Regions from separate parts of the Homo sapiens genome. Here regions 2, 3, 4, 5, 6 and 7 are each linked to region 1. Evidence: promoter capture Hi-C in 16 types of primary human blood cells and fetal thymus (Javierre and others, 2016). All regions are on one chromosome and are shown on one strand. Each heading gives the region's core, a stretch centred on a gene start or on the middle of the fragment in contact. The rest is flanking DNA. Distances are from core to core; before and after follow the strand shown.

What was found. Contacts are between HindIII fragments. The CHiCAGO score rates a contact against its expected background, and 5 or more counts as called.
Region 2: a contact is called between the fragment with the promoter of IDE here and the fragment with the promoter of BTAF1 in region 1, in 3 of 17 cell types (erythroblasts, fetal thymus and naive CD8 T cells). The highest score is 8.1, in erythroblasts.
Region 3: a fragment that was not itself captured here is called in contact with the fragment with the promoter of BTAF1 in region 1 in 3 of 17 cell types (total CD4 T cells, fetal thymus and activated CD4 T cells); the score reaches 7.3 in total CD4 T cells.
Region 4: a fragment that was not itself captured here is called in contact with the fragment with the promoter of BTAF1 in region 1 in 8 of 17 cell types (fetal thymus, total CD8 T cells, non-activated CD4 T cells and 5 more); the score reaches 12.6 in fetal thymus.
Region 5: a fragment that was not itself captured here is called in contact with the fragment with the promoter of BTAF1 in region 1 in 1 of 17 cell types (endothelial precursors); the score reaches 5.5 in endothelial precursors.
Region 6: a contact is called between a fragment that was not itself captured here and the fragment with the promoter of BTAF1 in region 1, in 2 of 17 cell types (total CD4 T cells and naive CD8 T cells). The highest score is 5.2, in total CD4 T cells.
Region 7: a fragment that was not itself captured here is called in contact with the fragment with the promoter of BTAF1 in region 1 in 10 of 17 cell types (total CD4 T cells, total B cells, naive CD4 T cells and 7 more); the score reaches 13.8 in total CD4 T cells.

What each region holds. Positions count from the first base shown.
Region 1 is chr10:91,922,119-91,925,397 of GRCh38, reverse strand. BTAF1 (B-TFIID TATA-box binding protein associated factor 1) reads right to left here and starts at 1,628. Exons shown (of 38, transcript NM_003972.3): 1 at 1,308-1,628. The coding sequence starts at 1,321. RefSeq lists enhancers at 1,086-1,285, 1,896-2,005, 2,353-2,886 and a silencer at 1,346-1,645. The HindIII fragment of the contact is 1,276 bases long and covers 572-1,847 here.
Region 2 is chr10:92,572,612-92,575,890 of GRCh38, reverse strand. It overlaps IDE (insulin degrading enzyme), which reads left to right and starts at 1,798. Exons shown (of 25, transcript NM_004969.4): 1 at 1,798-1,969. The coding sequence starts at 1,872. RefSeq lists enhancers at 1,139-1,378, 1,389-1,448 and a silencer at 1,949-2,398. The HindIII fragment of the contact is 22,211 bases long and covers 1-3,164 here.
Region 3 is chr10:91,279,672-91,282,950 of GRCh38, reverse strand. PCGF5 (polycomb group ring finger 5) reads right to left here. Exons shown (of 10, transcript NM_032373.5): 10 at 1-3,279. Among named protein-coding and RNA genes, the nearest start is that of PCGF5, 61 kb to the right of the region's middle. The HindIII fragment of the contact is 1,447 bases long and covers 942-2,388 here.
Region 4 is chr10:91,297,737-91,301,015 of GRCh38, reverse strand. No RefSeq gene overlaps it. Among named protein-coding and RNA genes, the nearest start is that of PCGF5, 79 kb to the right of the region's middle. The HindIII fragment of the contact is 3,876 bases long and covers 1-3,279 here.
Region 5 is chr10:91,339,246-91,342,524 of GRCh38, reverse strand. All of the region lies in intron 4 of HECTD2-AS1 (HECTD2 antisense RNA 1), which reads left to right. Among named protein-coding and RNA genes, the nearest start is that of HECTD2, 69 kb to the left of the region's middle. The HindIII fragment of the contact is 1,978 bases long and covers 754-2,731 here.
Region 6 is chr10:91,370,709-91,373,987 of GRCh38, reverse strand. All of the region lies in intron 3 of HECTD2-AS1 (HECTD2 antisense RNA 1), which reads left to right. Among named protein-coding and RNA genes, the nearest start is that of HECTD2, 38 kb to the left of the region's middle. The HindIII fragment of the contact is 3,540 bases long and covers 47-3,279 here.
Region 7 is chr10:91,390,602-91,393,880 of GRCh38, reverse strand. All of the region lies in intron 3 of HECTD2-AS1 (HECTD2 antisense RNA 1), which reads left to right. Among named protein-coding and RNA genes, the nearest start is that of HECTD2, 18 kb to the left of the region's middle. The HindIII fragment of the contact is 9,163 bases long and covers 1-3,279 here.

The DNA.
Region 1 (3,279 bases), core at 379-2,878:
TTAAACACTATTACCTGATAAATGTTATATTAAGTTTACATATCAATGCATTTACAATGTATATATTCATGCATTTATATGGGAGGTAACAAATTAGAAGATACACCTTTCTATATTTGCAAAAATGTAAAATGTCACTTGTATTCTCTCAAGGCAGTTTTATTTAAAAAAAAATTTCCTCACATTGAATAGATTATAAAATAAAAATCAGATGCCCCATACTACGGTACCTAGCAACCCCCTTCACCCAACTCCCATGGGCTTCTCCCACACACTATTTCATCAGTCATCTAGGGAGTCTGTAAGGAATGGGTTATCCTTTCCCTTGCAAAACAGATAAAACTTGTGCACTTAATACGCTCAAAGAATGTGTTCAGTTAATTATAAAAAAATGAAAACTATTTGTTTTCATCATTTATTCCTTCAGTCTATATGGTAAAAGAATCCAATTCTCATTAAAAGTTACCATATCAACTCTAAGGAACTTGGTGAATCCATCCGATCACTATCACAGAGGAACTATCCCTTAATTACATGTACAGAGGGTCACCAAATTCCGCTTACAAAAGCTTTCCAACCATTCTATCATACCGGAGGAAAAAGTAATGTTTCTCCTATAGCTATACAAATAAATGTCGTTAGTTTTTCTATAGTTTTCCTGGGCTTTCCTGTTGACAGGCAATATTTCAAAAGAATATAAGATCTGTGATTTATCTTCCACGCCTTAGTTACGGAAAATGATGCTAATACGATAATTGGCTTAAGGTTACAACGCTGACGTTGGAATGTTTACTGCCAAACAAAAGGAGAAATTATACTTAATTTTAAAAAACATCTCAGGAAAGAACATACCCCTAAAAACGTAAATTAAAACTGGTAACATAATTAGACGGTCTCTTAGATAATAGTAATTCAGGTTTCCCCTCCATCGACAGTAACTACCAAGTTTTCCCATGAAATGGAGGTTAGGGACCAGCCTTAGAATACTGAGAAAGATAAGAGACTCCCCTAGAATCGAAAGAGGGAAGAGAAACCAGAGAACAGAAACATGGTGAGGAAAGAGAAAAAACAGCTCTAACGTGCCAAGGGGTCTATTAACAAGAAAAAGGCATTATTGAACCGATTTACCCAGGAGTAACCCGAGCCCAAACCCCCGCCGACCACGGGGCGAACTCCGAAGTCTACTGAAGAAAGCTCCAGAGCCCAGTGACAATGAGAACCGCTCTTCTCTAGGAGTGGGGGCTCTAAGAGGAGACCATGCCTTCCCTGAATCGCCTTCCAGTTTGCTCGTCAGGAGCAAGACCCACCTGGAGACCGCCATGGCCGGGCGCCGGCGGTTCGGAGCTCCCCGCGACCTACGCGCCGCGCAGCTGAGGCGCTAGTTTCCAGAGAGCTGAGCGGCGCAGGCCCAGGCCGCGGAGCACAGGGGAGCGGCCGGTGCGGCGTGGGGCGTTCCAGCGCAGGCCCTCGGGCATCTGCCCTGCCGCCTACCCGAGCTCGTCCCCGCGGCGGCCGGTAAGCAGGGGTCCAAGACGGTAGCGGAGGCGGCAGTCCTCCGACCCGCACGACTTCAAACCGGGTACCCTCAGCTCCGCTCTTTGCTGACGCGGGCGTCGGCACGCACAACTGAGCGTCAGCGCGCCGGAAGTGACGTAAGCTCACCGACAGGAGCTTAGCTCGGCGCGAGCGCCTTTGGTTTGGCGGCACGCGCCTAAATAAAAGCGCTTTGTGCTGATGTGGAGAGGGTGTCTAGTCTTAAAACTAGGGAAGGAGGTGAAGTAAGGGTCCCCTTATTTGACAGAGAAGGAAAAAGGCGATTTAGTCCAAGTCCTGGAACTTCGAAAGCTTGGTTTCTAATTCCACACTACCCAGATTCTGCTTCCCACCGTACTGCATCTAGGAAGCAAGATCAGAAGGACCTTAACATGCTCTTGTCCAGGTGGTGAAGCCAGTGGGAGGAGTGAAAGCAAAAAGTCGCTATGACACTGAAGAAATGGCTCAGATGTTTGTCATTATTTGCCAGAAGTTCTGCCTAGGTATTGGAGAGAAGGTCTTCTGACCAACGATTTTGCCAAGTTTGATTTCTCAATTGTTTATGTTGTTTGTACCATCATTTTCTCAGCCAGCCAGATTTGAAAACTACCATTTTTAAATTTTTGTTCCTTTGGGGGACTTATCTGGCTTTTCAATATTTTTAAGTTCATTAGGCTTTTAAACACTTCTGCCAGGCCCTTATCATCTTACACTTGATTTTTTTTTTTTGACCGAGTTTCGCTCTGTCGCCCAGGCTGGAGTGCAGTGGCGCGATCTCGGCTCACTGCCAACCTGCGCTTACCGGGTTCAAGCGATTCTAAATGTGCCTCAACCTCCCGAGTAGCTGGGAGGCACACGAGCCCCACGCCGGGCCAATTTTTTGTATTTTTTAGTAGAGACGGGGTTTCGCCATGTAGGCCAGGCTTGTCTCCTGCTCCTGGCCTCAAGTGATCTGCCCGCCTCGGCCTCCCAAAGTGCTGGGATTACAGGTGTGAGCCACTGCGCCCGGCCCTTAAACTTGATTTTTATGCTAGTAGTCAAAATAATATTTCTCCAATTTTCAGTTCAGCCCATTTTATAGGCCAACAGATTAATCTTCAAAAAACCTCACTGCTTTTTATCATGTCGCTCCTATGCTTATAAAGCATGTCCATTGGCTTCTCATTACCTGAAGAGGCTATGTCTCAATCCTTGAGTCTGTTTTTCATCTGTAAAATGAGGCTAATGAGAAGTACTGCAGAAGATTGTGGGAATAAAATGAGGTCATGAATCTAGAAGAGCTTACAAGAACTTTGTAAACCATAAAGTAGTATATATGTATGTAAAGAGAAAGAAACTAACAAGTACCTGCTGTGTGCTGGGCACATGACATGCATTATCCATATAATTTGTAGGGAAGCCTTGAAAAGTTAGTTTTAATCTTCGTAGACAAGGAAACTAAGCTCAGAAAGGTTAAGTAATTTGCCTCAAGATTCAAGCTAGTAATAATATTTATTGTCCAGTCATTCAACAAATGTTTGTCACCTCTCTGTATCAGAAACTCTGCTTGGCGGTGTTCATGCTATTAAAATCTAATCAAGTTGATGTTCAAGATATCTTTACATTTTCACTTTAGTCACCTACTTGCCTCATCAGTTTATCTCCCACCATTCAATAACAAGCAGATACTTTTTACTGATCGTGTACAGCAATCATTTAGCCAAAATTAAGCACCTACCATATGAGAGACTGGAACTTCTGAAGAAA
Region 2 (3,279 bases), core at 549-3,048, 650 kb before region 1:
CAGGCTCCAAACTGGGAGTTGTAGAGGGAAAGCCAGTTGTTGTCTGGAAGCATTTTTTTTTTTTTTGAGACATAGAGTCTCATTTTGTTGCCCAGGCTGGAGTGCAGTGGCGTGATCTTGGCTCACTGCAACCTCCGCCTCCAGGGTTCAAGTGATTCTCCTGCCTCAGCCTCCTCAGTAGCTGGGATTACAGACGCATGCCACCACGCCTGGCTAATTTTTGTATTTTTAGTAGACACGGGGTTTCACCATTTTGGTCAGGCTGGTCTCGAACTCCTGATCTCGTTATCCGCCCGGCTTGGCCTCCCAAAGTGCTGGGATTACAGGCATGAGCCACCACGCCCGGCCATCTGGAAGCATTTTTATGTAAGCATTTCTAATAAGTAGCCTAAAGAGATCTCAGGAAAAAAAAGGGTACTAATCTCCAAGTCTCGAGTATTTGTTGTGATGTATTTTCTCTCTATAGTAATCTTCTGATTGCTAATTTTGTATTTATAATTTGTATTTTATGTCTCAAAGAGGTCCCCCAAATTGTATATGTTTCAAGCCCTCCAAGTCTGAATCTACCCCAGCCCATTTATAGATTCCATTAATGGAGCATAAATGTATTCAGAAAGGCTGCATTAACACTCTCAGAGGAGCTGCTTCAAGGTGATTGACTACTCTGCATTGGGACTGGTAATTTAAAGGTTCTTAAAACCATGCACTTGCAAACACCACTAGGAGGCTTGCCATAATTTTTACCTGTTTTCATCCAAAGGTTTGCCTTTAGGTGAAACCGCACTGTTAAAAAGATCGTGGGTACGTCTTCGATAAAGCATCAACTTGATTAAGGAACCCTCCTACTGAATTCCCATTTAAAGCAATACTTGGACTAAGGACACCGTTTTTGGCTGCAGTCTTGATCGTCTGTCAATCAGAAACCTAAAAGTACTTAAGCTGGCAAGTCACCATCCCTAATAGCATTCTTCCTTAAAGACTCCCATAAGGTATTATGGAAAGTTAGATTCATAACAACTATTAAGTTGTTCGTGGGTGCAAAGCCCCATAAAGCCACTGGGGAGAAAATTCTTTGTTTAAAAAGTAACCACTGAAGCCGACTGACATTAGTAGTATTCCTAGTACGGAGTACTAACAAGAGTAGTAGTTTCTACTCTGGATTTGAAGCCTTGTTTTGCTGCGGCGCCCGTCCCATCCGCACCTTCCTCTTAAGAGAGCTGCTAACTTCCCCAAGGATGGAAACGTCCCCCTGGGTCCTGGCCTCTCTATCGCTGACCCCTGCGTCTGAATTTCCCCCACGCCGCACTCGAGCCTTGTCTCCAGCGCATCTGTGCCTTCGCGGTCCACGTCCCCACCGCGCTCTAGAGGGAGCCCGCGGGCCGCGCGCCGGCCGCGGATTCATTTTACGTGAGGCCGCCGCGACCACGAACCTTGTTCCAACACCTGCAGGGTCCGGCACGCTAGTCAGTGGGGGTGCCTCAGAAAACATAGCCCCGTGTGCCCTCACTGGATTTATGAGCGGCCCCTCGCCCCCTCACAGTCAGACACACGTCGCCACCCTCACAAGTGCGGCCGGTGGGATCTAGCTGGGACCCTCCCCGCCTGGGAAAGTCTGGGTGCTGGCTCCTAAAGCGCCCCGGCCAAACCCCTGTCCCTCCAGTCCGCCTGCTCAGGCCTCGGCTGTCCGCGGTCTTCACCGTCCTCGCCTGCGTCCTGGCCCCATCCGGCTCCAGGCAAAACCCGGAGCAGCTACCTCTCCGCAGCTCCCGGGAGACCGCGCGGCGCCGCGGCTAGAGCATGCGCAGTGCGCAGGGCCGGCTCGAAGCGCAAGCAGGAAGCGTTTGCGGTGATCCCGGCGACTGCGCTGGCTAATGCGGTACCGGCTAGCGTGGCTTCTGCACCCCGCACTGCCCAGCACCTTCCGCTCAGTCCTCGGCGCCCGCCTGCCGCCTCCGGAGCGCCTGTGTGGGTAAGCGGAATGGAGCGCCCGGGCCCTCGGGCCCCGTGGGTCACAGCGGTTTGGCGCTCGGGTTGCAAAGTGGTGATTCAGCACTTAAAGCCGCCACCGCTGCCCCTCACGCCGCCCGTCCCGCCGGCCTGGGGCCCGTACTGCCGCGCTGAGGCCGCCCCAGGGCCCGGAAGAGCGGCTCGCCAGGCGGGAGCCAGAGGCCTGGTCCAGAGTCGGGGACGTCCCTTGGGCTGGTGAGGGGCCGGGGCCGCTACCCGGGGCCACGGGGCGTGTGCCACTAGTGCGGGGGGCGCAGGGGCGGACAGAGTCACCCGGCCTGCACCTGGGAGCCGCGCCGCGTCACTCTCCCGGAGTCCGCCTGTGAGGGGGCCGGGAACCTGAGGCGGACTCGAGCCGTGGGGTAAAGGAATCCGGCGACTTCGGGGGGACCGCTTCTCACCTTGCCCTCAGCCCTGCCCTTTTCTCCGGGCACTGAGTTTCCAGGACCGTGTGGAATGCCCGCGCTGGGAAAAAAGTTTGCCTGCCTCCCGCCTTGGAAGACGAGTGTGGGGTTTCCTATCGGGGGACATTTAGGAGCCAAAAGATACCTCGGGATCCTCTACAGCAGCTCCCTTGTTTTACGTCGGAGACAACCGGAGCTCCGAGAGATGGCTTGATTTCCCAGCAACTGCCGAGATTGTGGCAAAACCAGGATTAGGACACAGGTTTTTTGCCATCCGGCGGCGTGCCCTCTCCACTGCACCGTTGATCTGCGTACGCTAGGCGTTTTCAGGCTTGTAGTGAACGCTGAATACTTTTTACTACGAATGGAAGAAGATAGGCAGTATTATCTTGCCCTCCCTAGAAACGTTATTTGAACCCCTGCTGGTTTTAATCAGTAATAGCCAGCACCTACTAAGTGCAGGGCACTGTGCTGGACCCTCTATGTAAAGTATGTGTCTGCCTTCCAAGGAACTTTGACTTGATTGGAGCGGATTGGGATGCCACGGGAATTGAGATAGCTACAAGGGTGTGTTGATGAGGGTCAGAAGATGGGTAGTATGGGTAGTGTGTGGGGCCAGAGATGGGGGGGTAGGCTGGCTTTGGAAGGAATGGCAGAAAGGTTGGAGTGAGGGCTGGCGTGGGCGTAATCCAGCCTAGATATGCGGGCAGTTTGTGTTGGGGGAGCAGTGAGCCGATTAGTCTGGTTGAAGCTTTATAGAATTTCCTTGGGGTAATTAGAAGGACACAAGTCCTGTATTATAACAGTAGGGTAATGCTGGCCTGGGTCTTGAATTTTAGTTGGGATTTTCCCAATGCGTAGTAGGTAG
Region 3 (3,279 bases), core at 416-2,915, 640 kb after region 1:
GCAGACATGTTCCTTATTTCTACCCAAACTGTAGGAATATATATTACAAAATATTGATAATTGCATTTCAAGTTTTGTGTTTCTAATCCAGAAAATTAAAGTTATGGCAAACTCATTCATTTTTGAAGTTCCTACTACCAACCAATATCTTATTAGTATAAAGCTTAGCTTTCTGGAAAATTCCTTATGATAAACCAGAGTATGTAATAGAGTGTGCATCCATTTTCACCCTATCCAAGGAGTTTTACCTAGTGACCTATCAGAAAGACTCCATAAGATGAGTTTTACCTTTAAGGTAGCCCATAGCATGAGTTCCCAAGGAGAAATGGTACAAGGGGGATATGGAACTTCCTCTTGATGTACATGCTTGTTCTGTGACCCATTTTGTCAAAGTTGGCTGTATGGCTAAATTCTAATAACAATAAACTAAGTGCTGAGAAACAAGACCAAGAGTTGAATTTTTTTTGGAGATGGAGACTCGCTGTGTCACCCAGGCTGGAGTGCAGTGGTGTAATTGCGGCTCACTGCAACCTCCACCTCCTGGGTTCAAGAGATTCTCCTGCCTCAACCTCCCATGTAGCTGGGATTACAGGCGCGTGCCACCACACCTGGCTAATTTTTGTATTTTTAGTAGAGATGGGGTTTCACCATGTTAACCAGCTGGTCTCGAACTCCTGACCTCAAGTGATCCACCTGCCTTGGCCTCCCAAAGTGCTGGGATTACAGGCATGAGCCACTGTGCCCGGCCTAGAGTTGCTTTTTAAGGGGAAAAAAACCACAGGTCCTTATGAAATATTTTGAATATAGAGAAAGCACTTACTTATATAAATCCCATAGAATGAAGTCTTTTCTATACAAGTAAGTGTGTTGGCACTTTTACCAAAGTCTGCCTTTAATAAAATTTCTCATATTATGAATAATACAGGAGCTAAATCTAAGCTTAATTTTAGTTAACACTGCCTCCATGAAATAAAAACCCTCTCAAATTAAAAATCTGAACTTTCTTTTCAAAGTATGTATTTCTCTCACTTTTCATGCAGAGGAAGGCTATTTGTTGTGTTTACCTCTTTCTCATCTTTGAGGATTTAGATTTACTAAGATCTGTTAGATGATGCTGAAAAACAATGAACATATTTGAAAGGAAGTGTGTTCTGATTATTGCAAGAAAAGCCTGCATTTGACTGATCTCACCAAGAAAATTCAGTTTAAAGCCTTTCTTTGGTGATATTTTAGCAATTAATCAAGGTTATTGCCTAACTATATAAAATTAAATTGCAATCTAAAAATTTCCAACCTCCAAACTGTTAAAACCGTCTCTCCAACATGGTTATTAATTTACTGTAAAATGTCTTTGGTGATATCTATATTCTTATGAAAATCTTCCAAAAAAATTAACTTACAAGAGCCTATTTAGATATGAAACCATTCATAAGAGACAGGTACAGATAACTCAAACTTTATGCAGTAAATTTAAAACAGAAATGCACTTTAGTAATGAGGCACTTTCTCTTAAATATTTCAGTAAAGCTAAACAGTTCACAATATTATATAACACACTTTTTTTCCTTAAATAATCAGTTTAAATTTAGATTACATTTGAGTGTGTAATGTAGTTGAGCAAAGTCATTACGTTTATAAAATGTGGCACATTACTATGGGATAGATGTTTAATGTATAAAGAAATAATATACTCCTCTAAGAGTAGTTAAAAGGCATTACCCAAGTTACCTGTACTCCAGACTGAGTATTACCTCATCAATGAGCATTTTAGTTTATTTTTTCATACTTTGTAAAGCTGTTTTGCTAATCTAGAGAAAAGGCCATACATATTTTGATTTCTCTATTAACTGATGTGATTACTTCAATTAAAGTAATGTTTATAAACCACAGTCATTCTTTATATCTAAGTTCCCTTGACCCTTTTATACTTATAATTTCTAAGGCAGATAAAAGAGATAACAAAATCTTTTATGGAAGTAAAGGTCTTTCAGTTTATTGCTTAAGAAACAACAGATTAAAGAAAACTTTTAGTTTTAGTCTCTGATGTTACAGATTCAGATGATTCCTATAGGTTATTTAAAGAATTCATTTTATCATTTTATAAGCACCCTAAATTTATAAAGCTAACCACAAAAGTTGCCTGTACATTTTTTCTATACCTAGTTTCTTGCAAATTCTACAATCTGACTTAAGGGATAATTAACGGGGAATACAGTGTATTACTAGACATGAAAGTAGTCCTATCCTTAGAAAGCTGTAGTTGAATATACCAAAATAAGTCAGTTGAAGAAATCTGTGATTCTAGTAGTAATACCATATCACTTAGGACCATCAAAAAAATGTGTACCTTTCTCCAAACGACAACTGATGCCTTTCTTTATGTAAGCTTTTCACGTGTTTTGGCACATATTCCATTGCATTTCAATAAAAATGTTAATGCATTATCAGTAAATAAAAGAATTCTATATAAAACTATTCTCAGTTTCATAATTGCTTCCTATATATTTCCTTGGAAAATAGTGAAATTACATATGACAAGGCAACCAGCCAAATTTAAAGAGATTTTGTAGATAAAATTCATTTATGACCATTAAGTTTTGGCTGGGGGGCCAAAACATCAAAGTCTCACTTGTGATTTTTAAAATGCACTCTTAATTCATTTTGAGTTAATTAAAATTCCATTTGCAAAACACTATTTTAATCGCTGACCTAGGTGTGACAAATTTATAATAATTTGTAAAAGTTCTTAGGGATGTCTGGGAACAGTTTCACACCATAGAAAAATAATTTCTGTAGCTAGATAGTAAATTCAGTTTTTTCAGCCATTTATAGTTAATGAAAATCTGCCTTTTAAATTCTGCTTGTGAGCCATTCCAAGAACAAAAACAATGTAACAAAACAAAGTTAAAGTATTGCCATAACCTTTTTCACCAAAGTTGGAACAACAACAGAAAAATTTAATAGACTTTTTGACTCAAAAAAAGATAGAAGGAACAGATAATTATGAAGTTTCAGCCTTTTACATAGTGAAATATATTAAGATTTAGCTGTACTTTGTATGTTTGCTAGAGTTGTACAATATCTTATTTCTAAGAATCATTTTGAAATTCAGAAGGCATTGATTTCTGATACATTTTACTGGAAAATGTGACACATTTACCACATATGCAGTATAAAAACTAAATGTGTGTAACACACAGATTGTGCTCGTCATATTTCTCAAATATTTTTCCTAACTTTCAAGATTTTTTCCTAAGTTTCAAAGGTTAGCTTGTTTGT
Region 4 (3,279 bases), core at 303-2,802, 620 kb after region 1:
CAAGGCCTTTGAACTTAGACTGAGCCATGCTACCAGCATCCCAGGGTCTCCAGCTCGCAGACAACCTGTCTTAGCCAATTCCCCTAATAAATTCCTTTTTATCTATCTATCTATCTATCTATCTATCTATCTATCTATCTATCTTCTATCTTCCCTCTCTCTCTCTCTGTAGACACACACACACACACACACACACACACACACACACACACTATTGGTCCCATATCTATGGAGAACCCTAATACTGAACCTTCCAGCTTCAGTCACCATAGGGAGATTGCTCAGTGTCAAGTCCAAAAAATTCTAACCAAAGGAGTCAAGAGTCAGTAGCCCACTTTGGATTGAGTGCCAGTTAGGTTGATGGGTCATGTACTATATACAGAGAGAGAGAGAGAAAGAGAGAGAGAGCTCCTGTGAGAAATACGGATGGGAAAGGTGGCAGTTTCTAGAAAAACAAGTATGTGAGTGTGGAGGAGACAATCCTATAGATCTCCATCCACTCTAACAATTAGCCTATTGTTTCCATAGTAAAATGGAATTTTATAAACATTAATGTCATAGAACCCATGATTCAACATTCAACCATTTGCAAATATTTTCCATTCTTTGCAAAAGCAATATCATTGGCAAGGCTAGCACAGGCTAGGTGTGGTTGTGATTTTCTTTTTGGTTGCTGTGCCAGAGGGACCCTTGCTTTTCAGGATTCCCAAGGATTAGAGCTTCCATGTGTCGAAGGTAAGGACAGAGTAAACAGGATGCATAATTCTTAGGCAGCATGAATGGCTGCAAAAAGGCCTTGAGGTTTCATCAGCCAGCATTTCTGAAGCATCTCCTATGCAGCAAGCATTCTGTAAGGTGATGCCCTCAGCAGTAGGCTGGTACCTCAATAAATATTTATGCAATAAATATTTGCTGAATGGAATATGTGTGTGGCATTTAGTGACCTTTGGTTCATTCTTGCTGAAGAGCCCAGCAGCTTCTCACATGCAAATGATGCCACAGTCACCCAAGCCCCTGTCACCACTGCAAACACAGACAGCTGCACCTTGGAAGATGGGAACCTGAAACATTTTCATGGGCTTACTTAGTTGATGGAGGTGATGGTGAAGGTGGGAGTGGAAGCTGTGGAGGTGTGGCAATTGAGAACACTGGGTCTCAAACTGTAGCATGTATTCAAATCACCTGGAAGGCTTGTTAAAACAGATTCCTGGGCTCTGCCCTAGTAGGTCCTTGGCAGGCCTGAGAATTTGCATTTCTAACAAGTTCCCAGGTAATACTGATGCTGCCGGCTGACTTTGAGAACCACAGAGCTATCAGAGTGGCCCTTCTCAAGCCTGGCTACACATTAAAAATCACCTGGTAGCCCCCTCCCCACTACCCTAGCAGAGACCAACTAGATGAGAATCTCTGGGAATTGGTCTGAGGTTATGTCTCAGCTCTACAGGTGATTCCAATGTGCATCCAGAGGCCATAATCAGTGCCTTACATCAACCAAGACAAATGTAAACATGATAGGGCAGAGAGAAGGCCCTTGGAGAGAGCCTTAGACACATGAAGTATAAGCTAAAATTCTTCTATGTCAGTTAGTTTGATTAGTACTGACTGCCAAATAGCAAAAGAAGCCCCCACAGATCCATGGGGTGGGGGGAGGCTCAGTACTTTTAAGATTTGTGAAGGGGTCCCAAGAACAAAACAATTGAGAACTAGCATTATTAGCTCTATGGTGAACAATAGGACCCTCAGGAAGTGCCAGACCTGGGAGGGAACTTGGGTACCCTACAACCGGGCTCTCATTTTACAGATGAGAAAACTGAGGCTCGGCTCTCTAGCGGTTTGCCGGCAGGTCACCCAAGGGGCAATGACAGAGCCAGCCCTGGGCTCTGATGGCAGCTTCTGTGCTTCCTGATTCCCATCCCTGGGATTGAGACCGGGACAACGCTTTTCCATAGGTGTTCCTAGATTAGCAGAGGATGCTGGGAACAGCTTTCTGTGGCTCATTCTTGCATAGAAAGAAAACCCTCCTAAAGGTTTTGGAATCTCGCCCTTCATGTTCACTGTGCTCACACAAAGCTCTTCTTTTCAGAAGCAGTTCTTTTCTCAGAACACTTCAAATGTAACAAATATACATCCATCAGCGTGGAGCGGCAATCAGCTCACTCACTATTCATTCGAGTTGGTGACCCAGGGCCTCCGCGCCCTGGAAACGCTCCACGGGGACACCGCGCCGTGCCAGAGAAGCTGGCCTCCAAACAACCCGCTGTAAACAGCTTTGCAGAGATCTTCCTCTGGAGGGCACAGATCCCTGGGATTGCTAGGATGAGGTTTCTCATTCTTTCCGAAGTAAAGGGAACTGGCAAAGTTAAAGCAGGAATGAAAGAGCTTTGATCTTATGAGGCGGAGGTGCTTATCCCAGCTGGGGTTAACAAGGAGGACATTCAAGCACTGCGAGCGGTCCACTCCTCGTTCTTGCATGCCCCAGCCCTGAAGGAAGTGGGTTGCAGCTCTCGTTACCCATCCTCCAGGTGGATCCTCTTCCTTCTGCCCGCCCTCAAAAGGCAAAGAACCACTGCGGGCTGATGGCGCCCTCTGGAGGCCGTGATGGGAAACTGTGTGCCTCAATTTTGCAGCCACGGCTGCCTTCCCCTCCCCCACTTTCCAGGGGCTCCTGCCCAGGTCGGGCTTCCCAAGGTCTCTTCCTCAGTACATTACACATACTCCTTCTTATGTGTGAGCACATAGATAGCAAAGCACCCAGAGGCACGCATACCCTTCTTTAACCCCCCGGTTCATCTCAAGTCTTACCTGTCAGTTATCTCACGTTAAAAAAAAAAAAAAAAAACAATTCCACCTCCCTCTTTTCATTCCATTTGTGTTGCCCAGAGTTTAATCACATCTGACAAGACTCACAGGGGTGTTAGTGAAAGAACTCTACCAAGGGAAAGAAACACCACCTGCAATGAAGTAAAACTGAGTGCAGTCAACAGATGTAATCCTGTAGGGCCTGGTGGGGCTGCCAGGCTCCCAGGTAGAGGAAACCACCATCGCAGTTTGCAGAAGACTAGTGGAGCTCCCGGGTCATGAGATTATTAAGTGCTAAAACCGGGACACTCCCATTAAAACTGTGGCAGTGGGTCGCCCTACTTCAAGGACTTGGTGGTCCAGAGGTTTCGCCTTCCTGGGAGATTTCTCCTTGATTCATTCGGGAGAAATGAAAGAACTGAGTGGGGAAGGAAAAATGAAAGTAAGTATTAAATAGCTCTTATAAATTACAGGAATTTG
Region 5 (3,279 bases), core at 493-2,992, 580 kb after region 1:
AAATGCCCAGTTCTGTAGATCTGGGGACTGTTCCTGCTTTTGGCCATGGTGGTCAGGTTTGTTCCCAGCTTAGTCTTTGAATTTAGTTTTTGCTATATGTTCTCAAACTCTCTTTCCCAGGGTCTACAAGTGGCATCCACCAATGGTCTCTAAAGCATCATGCTCCGTGTCCAGGTCTAGGACATCATAGGTGTTTAAAGGATACCTAGAATTTTTACCTCTTCCAGGAGACATCCAGGGAGGGTGGGCCTTGGTAGGAGGGGTCTTCTGAATCCACAGGACCTCCATAGGCCTTGTCTAGAGTGAGACCAGACCACCTGGTTGAGGAATAATCCCACTCCAAGACTTGATGTGGAGTCTAGGACCCAGAACTTGACTCATTATGGCTCCCTTGGCTTTGTGATACTGTTATAGAACCAAAGTGGGGTCCACTGGCCTGGCACAGTAAGGCCAGACATCCACACTGAGGTTTGAAGTGGCAAGAAAGGAAGGTATTTATTTGCAGGGCACCAAGAAAGGAGAATTGGCAGCTAATGCTTATGTCCTGACTTCCCAATGGCTTGCAAGTAAGGGTTTTTAAAAGCAGGGGTAAATTTCAGGAAAGCAGAAGTTACAGGCAAGATCATAAATCAATACATGGAGGCTACACATGGGTTTTGGCCTGAAAGGGTGGGGGATCTTGAAGCAGGAGCTTACAGGTCATAGGCAGGTTCAAAGATTTTCTCTTTTACAATTGGTTAAGGAAGAGAAGCTTTGTTTAAAAATTTAAGGTCAGCAGAAAGAATGTTAGCTCTGGCTCATGGGTGTGACTTCCTCCAGGACACTCAGGAAGAAATTTAGAACAAAGAATGGTTATCAGAATTCAGTCCTCAGTTCTACATTATCTGAGGTCTATGTGCCAGTGTATCCATTTGTTGGAGGTCCAGGTTTCTGAAAAATAACTCGGGTACATATGTTAAGATGTTATCTTTAGTTTCTATAGGGAACCAAACATCTCGGGACTCTCAGTTCCTTGGCTATTGTTTCAGGCTACCATTACCTTCTTGTTTATCAAGCTGCTTATTCACTTTCAGGGCTAGCTAGGCATCTGGAATTTCCCTTGAAGGAGCTCAAGATTTTCCTTTATTTCCATGCTTGGGGACCCAGAGACCCCTAAAAGGGGTCCCTGCTCCATCTCAGTACCTGGATTTTCACTTCCTTGCTAAGTCAGTCAGTTATAAAAAGCAGATTCAGCTCTAGCCCACATCTGAGTAACTGAGAAATTATCATCTCCACTTGGCAAAAACGGAAGCGTGAAATGTGAGTCAGTTGTTTTATTCCACTTCCTAGTGGAGAGAGACAGTTTCTCATCCAGTGTGAATCGAGTCATTCAGGAAGAAACTCAATCCCAGAGAATTATTCAGATGGCGATTGCAGCCTGCTCCTAATTAGACACAGGCTGACTCAGGGGCCAGGGCCTGATGCGGCTGGCAAGCAGCTGTCTCACAGGCTCACTTCTTACTCAGTCTCCTGGCACCTGTGCCTCCCTCTATCAAATAAACACAATTATAATTACTCCCTATTTAAGTGCAGCACAACCTGATTTCCATGTTATTTATACTCCGCACCCCCAAAACACACACACCATCTAATGAGGAGGTGGGTTCCAGCTGCTGGAGGGCCCCTGAAGTGTGCAAGGCTGGAGGTGAACTCCCAGGCAGAGATGAACTGCTCACCAGGAACGGAACAGGGTGGCGCTACAGGAAAACAAAATTTCCAGGGGGTAAAAACAGAATAGGGAGACACAAGACCACAAGGTCAGGAAACAGGTCCAGGGCAAAGAAGAATCCAGCTTGGAGACCAGATACTTCCAAAGAGAACTGAGGATGTCAGGCTGAGATTTTGCATGGGAGTTTCCTATAGGATTTGTATAGGAGATTTTGTGTAGGAGCTTCCTATAGGATTTGTATGGGAGATTTTGTAAGATTTTGTGTAGGAGTTTTCCATAGAATTTGTATAGGAGATTTTGTAAGATTTTGTGTGGGAGTTTCCCATAGGATTTGTATGGGAGATTTTATAAGATTTTGTGTAGGAAACTCCTACACAAAATCTTGGTCAACATCTATGCAGTTCATTAATACTTTTGGTGCAGAACAGATTGTCTATTTATTTACTGGAAAGGAGAGAGATGCTGTGTCCTGCATCAAGGTTAGCAAGAGATGAAAAGAGAGGCTGAGTTACTTGTGTAGTTACAGTATTTTTTAAATGTCAATTTGCCAGCCTAATCTGTGAGCTACAATGAGGATAGGGATTGTGTCTCTTGTTAGCAGATCCCCAGTGCCTAGCACAATGTGAGCACATAATAGGTGTTCAAACAGTTATTGTGTGAATACGTTGAATGCCTCCACTTAATGGCTCCATACAACTTCTGATTCCCAACTGAACTGAAGTCTAAAATAATGTTTTTTGTCCCTTTGCCTAGGGTTCACAGGGCACATTAGAAAGCTGATGATTTGGAGCATGGTAGGAGTGGCAGCAGCAGCTTTAGGGCAATGCTTTCAGAAAGATGTTCTTCAGCCCTCAGGAAGTGGTACTGCTGGCTGACAACACAGCTGGAACCCCACATAGAGGAAATAACACGGGCCATCAAGATGCCCACTCTAACAAGGGAGACCAATCTGATTTCCATAAGTATTAAAGTCAAATGTTGCTAGGGGATTTTGCATGCTGATTCATAGAGAAAAATAAAGCTTTGCTTAAAGAATGCATACATTCTTTCTGTTTACCCTCTGGGAACATCCATTATAAAGAGAAATTGAACTCTAATTGTACTCAATTGTGACACTTAGAAAGAAATATAAAGTATATGTAGTTGCAACAACCTTCAGTCTTTTCTCTAGGCTAAATGGAACATACTAAATTGAGAAGGAGGTGCTATAGGCTTCATGGTATCCCTAGAATAAAATGGTATAAATAGTATTTTGAATCAGAAGATGTGGCTTAAAGGCCCAACTCAACCACTTACCAGCGATGTGAGTTCCAAGGCTTATTTTAATAACTGATTCTGATTTTGCTTAAGTTCTTAATTTCAATAAAAAGTATAACCTTAACTGTATAAAACCAGTAATCAAATTGCGGGAAGATTTTTTAAAAAGAGCAAGAAAAATATTCCTAATTAATGACATTTTAATATTTCTTTATATTTGTAGTTTTTCTATCGTGTCTAGGTATGGCTCTTGTTTTGCTTAACTTTATTTGAGACCTAATGTACTTCACCATTCTGAGGACTTATGTTCTCTT
Region 6 (3,279 bases), core at 567-3,066, 550 kb after region 1:
AAATCTCTTTTAAAAGATCAAGATATTATTTTATGAGCCAAAAGCTTCTTTTTCCAAAATCACTTTAAGATAACATTATTTTATTTCACAATTAGCTCATTCTTTAAACATTTCTGTTTTTATGTTTTATTATGTATCACTATTTCATTCTGGTTATCCATGCACATTATTTATCAACAGAAAAAACACAGGAGTTGCACGTTCATCTTTTTTTATGACAAGGATAAATAACCAGATAAATAATCAAAGTCTTGGAGATGACTGCTGTGGCCTATAAAGACAATAGGAGTGTCTTGAATAGTGACATAATATTATTTTATTATTTAATTTGGCTCTTAGAAAAAAATCACTGGGGTTAACAGTATACACAATTACTTGAAATCGTCTATATATTGGGGAACTTGAAATGAGATTAAACTGTTGTGCTGAATGTGAGCTCTCAAAATCTGAGGTCATTCAAGAACCTTAAGCTGGCTATACAATATTAGATTTTGGTGACAAAGTAAAGCAAAAAGACATGTGTCTTATCCTGGATAATTATTTCTGATTGTCCACAACAAAGATAAGCCTTTGAACTATTGAGGATTTTTAACCACCTTAGAAATGAACTAGTGCTCACTTTATGGATTTGGAAACTGAAGCCCACTGAGATGAAGTTACTTGCCTAAAATCACACTGTAGTTTAATTGGATTGCAGTTGGCAATCATTCACCCTATGTAGTAGTCTGTGAGGATACTGACACACATGAATTTCTTTTTTTTATTATACTTTAAGTTTTAGGGTACATGTGCACAACATGCAGGTTTGTTACATATGTATACATGTGCCATGTTGGTGTGCTGCACCCATTAACTCATTTACATTAGGTATATCTCCTGATGCTATCCCTCCCCCTCCACCCACCCCACAACAGGCCCCGGTGTGTGATGTTCCCCTTCCTGTGTCCAAGTGTTCTCATTGTTCAATTCCCACCTATGAGTGAGAACATGCGGTGTTTGGTTTTTTTGTCCTAACGATAGTTTGCTGAGAATGATGGTTTCCAGCTCCATTCATGTCCCTACAAAGGACATGAACTCATCATTTTTTATGGCTGCATAGTATTCCATGGTGTATATGTGCCACATTTTCTTAATCCAATCTATCATTGTTGGACATTTGGGTTGGTTCCAAGTCTTTGCTATTGTGAATAGTGCCACAATAAACATACGTGTGCACATGTCTTTATAGCAGCATGATTTATAATCCTTTGGGTATATACCCAGTAATGGGATGGCTGGGTCAAATGGTATTTCTAGTTCTAGATCCTTGAGGAATTGCCACACTGACTTCCACAATGGTTGAACTAGTTTACAGTCTCACCAACAGTGTAAAACTGTTCCTTTTTCTCCACATCCTCTCCAGCACCTGTTGTTTCCTGACTTTTTAATGATCGCCATTCTAACTGGTGTGAGATGATATCTCATTGTGGTTTTGATTTGCATTTCTCCGATAGCCAGTGATGGTGAGCATTTTTACATGTGTTTTTTGGCTGCATAAATGTCTTCTTTTGAGAAGTGTCTGTTCATGTCCTTTGCCCACTTTTTGATGGGGTTGTTTGTTTTTTTCTTGTAAATTTGTTTGAGTTCATTGTAGATTCTGGATATTAGCCCTTTGTCAGATGAGTAGGTTGTGAAAATTTTCTCCCATTTTGTAGGTTGCCTGTTCACTCTGATGGTAGTTTCTTTTGCTGTGCAGACGCTCTTTAGTTTAATTAGATCCCATTTGTCAATTTTGGCTTTTGTTGCCATTGCTTTTGGTGTTTTAGACATGAAGTCCTTGCCCATGCCTATGTCCTGAATGGTACTGCCTAGGTTTTCTTCTAGGGTTTTTATGGTTTTAGGTCTAACGTTTAAGTCTTTAATCCATCTTGAATTGATTTTTGTATAAGGTGTAAGGAAGGGATCCAGTTTCAACTTTCTACATATGGCTAGCCAGTTTTCCCAGCACCATTTATTAAATAGGGAATCCTTTCCCCATTGCTTGTTTTTCTCAGGTTTGTCAAAGATCAGATAGTTGTAGATATGTGGCATTATTTCCGAGGGCTCTGTTCTGTTCCATTGATCTATATCTCTGTTTTGGTACCAGTACCATGCTGTTTTTGTTACTGTAGCCTTGTAGTATAGTTTGAAGTCAGGTAGCGTGATGCCTCCAGCTTTGTTCTTTTGGCTTAGGATTGACTTAGCGATGCGGGCTGTTTTTTGGTTCCATATGAACTTTAAAGTAGTTTTTTCCAATTCTGTGAAGAAAGTCATTGGTAGCTTGATGGGGATGGCATTGAATCTATAAATTACCTTGGGCAGTATGGCCATTTTCATGATATTGATTCTTCCTACCCATGAGCATAGAATGTTCTTCCATTTCTTTGTATCCTCTTTTATTTCATTGAGCAATAGTTTGTAGTTCTCTTTGAAGAGGTCCTTCACATCCCTTGTAAGTTGGATTCCTAGGCATTTTATTCTCTTTGAAGCAATTGTGAATGGGAGTTCACTCATGATTTGGCTCTCTGTTTTTCTGTTATTGGTGTATAAGAATGCTTGTGATTTTTGCACATTGATTTTGTATCCTGAGACTTTGCTGAAGTTGCTTAGCAGCTTAAGAGGATTTGGGGCTGAAATGATGGGGTTTTCTAGATATAAAATCATGTCATCTGCAAACAGGGACAATTTGCCTTCCTCTTTTCCTAATCGAATACCCTTTATTTCCTTCTCCTGCCTGATTGCCCTGGCCAGAACTTCCAACACTATGTTGAATAGGAGTGGTGAGAGAGGGCATCCCTGTCTTGTGCCAGTTGTCAAAGGGAATACTTCCAGTTTTTCCCATTCGGTATGATATTGGCTGTGGGTTTATCATAAATAGCTCTATTATTTTGAGATACATCCCATCAATACCTAATTTATTTAGAGTTTTTAGCATGAAGGGCTGTTGAATTTTGTCAAAGGCCTTTCAAAAAATCAACGAATCCAGGAGCTGGTTTTTTGAAAAGATCAACAAAATTGATAGACCGCTAGCAAGACTAATGAAGAAAAGAGAGAAGAATCAAATAGATGCAATAAAAAATGATAAAGGGGATATCACCACTGATCCCACAGAAATACAAACTACCATCAGAGAATACTATAAAAACCTCTACGCAAATAAACTAGAAAATCTAGAAGAAATGGATAAATTCCTGGACACATACACCCTTCCAAGACTAAACCAGGAAGAAGCTGAATCTCTGAATAGACCAATAACAGGCT
Region 7 (3,279 bases), core at 259-2,758, 530 kb after region 1:
TAGTTAAAACATTTAACTAAATTATATTTAATGAATTGTATGTTGATGGATTGAGTCATTTGTCCGTAGTACATCTGCCAGAGATAAATGCTTTTGAAAAAAATCCTACATTTTCTGCTTTTCTATCATAAGACATGATTTGATTGCAGCCACAGTGACACCAATTATATATTTTTTATCTGTTGAAGTGGAGAAAATGGGCTCTAAGTAATCATTACTTAGTGAAAATTGAACTGTCATCTCAAATTGTCAATACTCAGATTAGAAAATGTAAACAAAACTAAGTTCCTTTACTCTTCAACTCCACACAAGTGAAAATGCTGCATAAAATTTGATAGGCACAATTATCATCATTTTACCCTTTCAGATGTCAGCTCATTCTATTGATCTACATTCTGTTGATGTAATAGTTAAATATTAAAATTTAATGAATGCCAGTTAAAAATGGACCCCCAAAATGTATTGTTTATTAACCTGTATCTTAAAGGATTAGGCATAAAAAGATTTTATGAATGACAGTTCATGAATATTATTAATGTGAATTGAATTAATATTCATTTACTTGAAGCTGCTCATTATATCTGTGATTAACCTTTTACCTTCCTAAAGAGATGATGTTTTATAAGGAAAAGACACAAAGGAAAAGGGATTAAAATAATCTTAAAATAGTCTCATAAAGGGCTGGGCGCGGTGGCTCACACCTATAATCCCAGCACTTTGGGAGGCCGAGGTGGGTGGATAACTGAGGTCAGGAGTTCGAGACTGGCCTGACCAACATGGTGAAACCCCGTTTATACTAAAAATACAAAAATTAGCTGGGTGTGGTTGTGGGCACCTGTAATCTCAGCTACTAGGGAGGCTGAAGCAGGAGAATCGCTTGAACCCGGCAGGCAGAGGTTGCAGTGAGCTGAGACTGTGCCATTGCACTCCAGCCTGGGTGACAAGAGTGAGACTCCGTCTCAAAAAAAAAAAAAAAAAAAGTCTCGTAAAATTCCAACCTGCATTTTTTTTTTATTTTAATTTTTTTCGGAGACAGAGTCTCATCTGTCCAGGCTGAAGTACAGTGGTGTGATCTTGGCTCACTGCAACCTCTGCTTCCCAGGTTCAAGTAATTCTACTGCCTCAGCCTCCTGAGTAGCTAGAAATACAGGCACCTGCCACCATGCCCGGCTAATTTTTGTATTTTTAATAGAGATGGGGTTTCGCCCTGTTGGCCAGTCTGGTCTTAAACTCCCGATCTCAAGTGATCCGCCTGCCTCAGCCTCCCAAAGAGATGGGATTACAGGCATGAGCCACCATGCACCGCCCCAACCTGCCCTTTTAAAAGACCTTCATTCCATTAAATAAAATAATGTTATATGATTCTAAAACCCTTATCTGTGGCAATGAGTCTCTTCATGACTGTTTGAGGGAAAAATTCCACTGGTCAGTACAGTAGGCAGAATTTCTAAAATCATCCCCCAAGATGTTATATCCAACTACCCAGACCCTCTGCATGTGATGAGATTCAGTCCTGTGATGGTGTTGTATTATATGGCATAGTTAACCTTAAGATAGGGAGAATATCCAGGTGGGCCTCATCTAATCAGATAGGCCCTGAAAACAGGAATGCTTTCTGATGCTGCCAGCAGAAGTCAGAGAGATTCTTAGTGTGAGAAAGGCTCCCTGTGCCATTGCTGGCTTTGATGACAGAGAGAGCTATCTGAGAATGTAAGTGGCCCTAAGGAGCTAAAAGAGAGGCCCCTGGCTGACTGCCAGTCAGGAAACAGGGATCTCAGCCCCACAACTGCAAGGAACTGGATACTGCCAACAACCTGAATGAGCTTATAAGTGGGTTCTCTGTAGAGCCTCCAGATAAAAGCCCAGATGGCCCACACCTGGGCCTCAGCCTTGTGAGCCCCTAAGTAGAGAAACCGGTGAAGCCTACTCCTGACCCACAGAACTATGAGATCATGAATGTTTTTTTTTAATTAATCTACTTAATTTGTGATTTTTGACACCATAATAGAAAACTAATATAGTCAGGAAAATTATGAGCAAAACATTCACGGTAGAAGGGATCTCAGAGAGCTTCTAACCACTGGTGTCCTTGACAAAGAAGGACCCTAGACACAGTAGACAGTGTGAAACCCAAGCTATTTCAAAGCTCTAAAAAGCCTAAATTAAGTCACACAATTATTAATCAAATAGTGCTGTACAGACCTACTTAACCTTGATAGATGATAATCAAGTTTCTTTGTTTTTACCCTCACTAGAATGTAAGCACCACTTGGGCAGGGATGTTGACTCTTCTGTTCACAGTTATCCTTAATGTCAAGAACAGAACCTGATACCCAGTAGGCATTCAATAAACAAATACATAATTAGGGCCAAAATTATATCATCAGTATGATAAAAACACATTATTCAACTGTTAACAATTACTTATGCTTGAATTCATTAAAGAGATAATAATAAACTTTGAATGTGTAAATGCAGTTAGATTGGCCAAATCATTCAAAACATAGGCTTCATGGGTAGGAAAAAATAACAAAAGGGACATTAGTTATTAATTTGTGTTTTTTTTGAAAAACATTTTGTCCATTCCCCCTTCTAAAAATCCAGATGAGGAAACTGAAGCCAAGTGAGGTTAAGTAATAAATATGTAACTGTTAGCTAAATTGTGGTACTGGTTCTAAATGTTTGTGATAGAAAGCCGTTTAATCAAAATGAATCTGTCCACATTCGAAACTGATGGGTGCTGCTGATAAATCAACTGTGGGAAGAAAAAGTGAAAACAGACTAAAAAAAGCAGGCTTCAGAGCCACAGTTACTGGAACACAAACTCCATTCCATTTAGTTTAATTAAACCAAACTTAGCAAACATCTATGATGTGAGATATTAATAGACACTCTGGGTTATGAGGATGAACAGACATGCCCAGATCCTCCAGGATTTCCAGTCTAGGAGGGGAGCTAAGGCATGAACCCAGGTAAATGCAATACAAGGTAGAATGTGAAGGGTACTACTGGGGGGTACAAATAAAGAACTATGGGAGCAAAACTGGTGGAGAGCTTTTTTGTAGCTGGAAAGGTGGGGAAAAGTTTCACAGAGGAGGTGTCATCTGTTGCCCTGGAAATGGCACTGAGTGGAGTTTCCTCTAAAGTTTATTTACATTGTACAGAAGAAATGTCACATCAGAAACTTGTCCCTTGAGGCCAGGCATGATGGCTCATGCCTGTAATCCCAGCACTTTGGGAGGCTGAGGTGGGCGGATCACTTGAGGTCAGGAGTTTGAG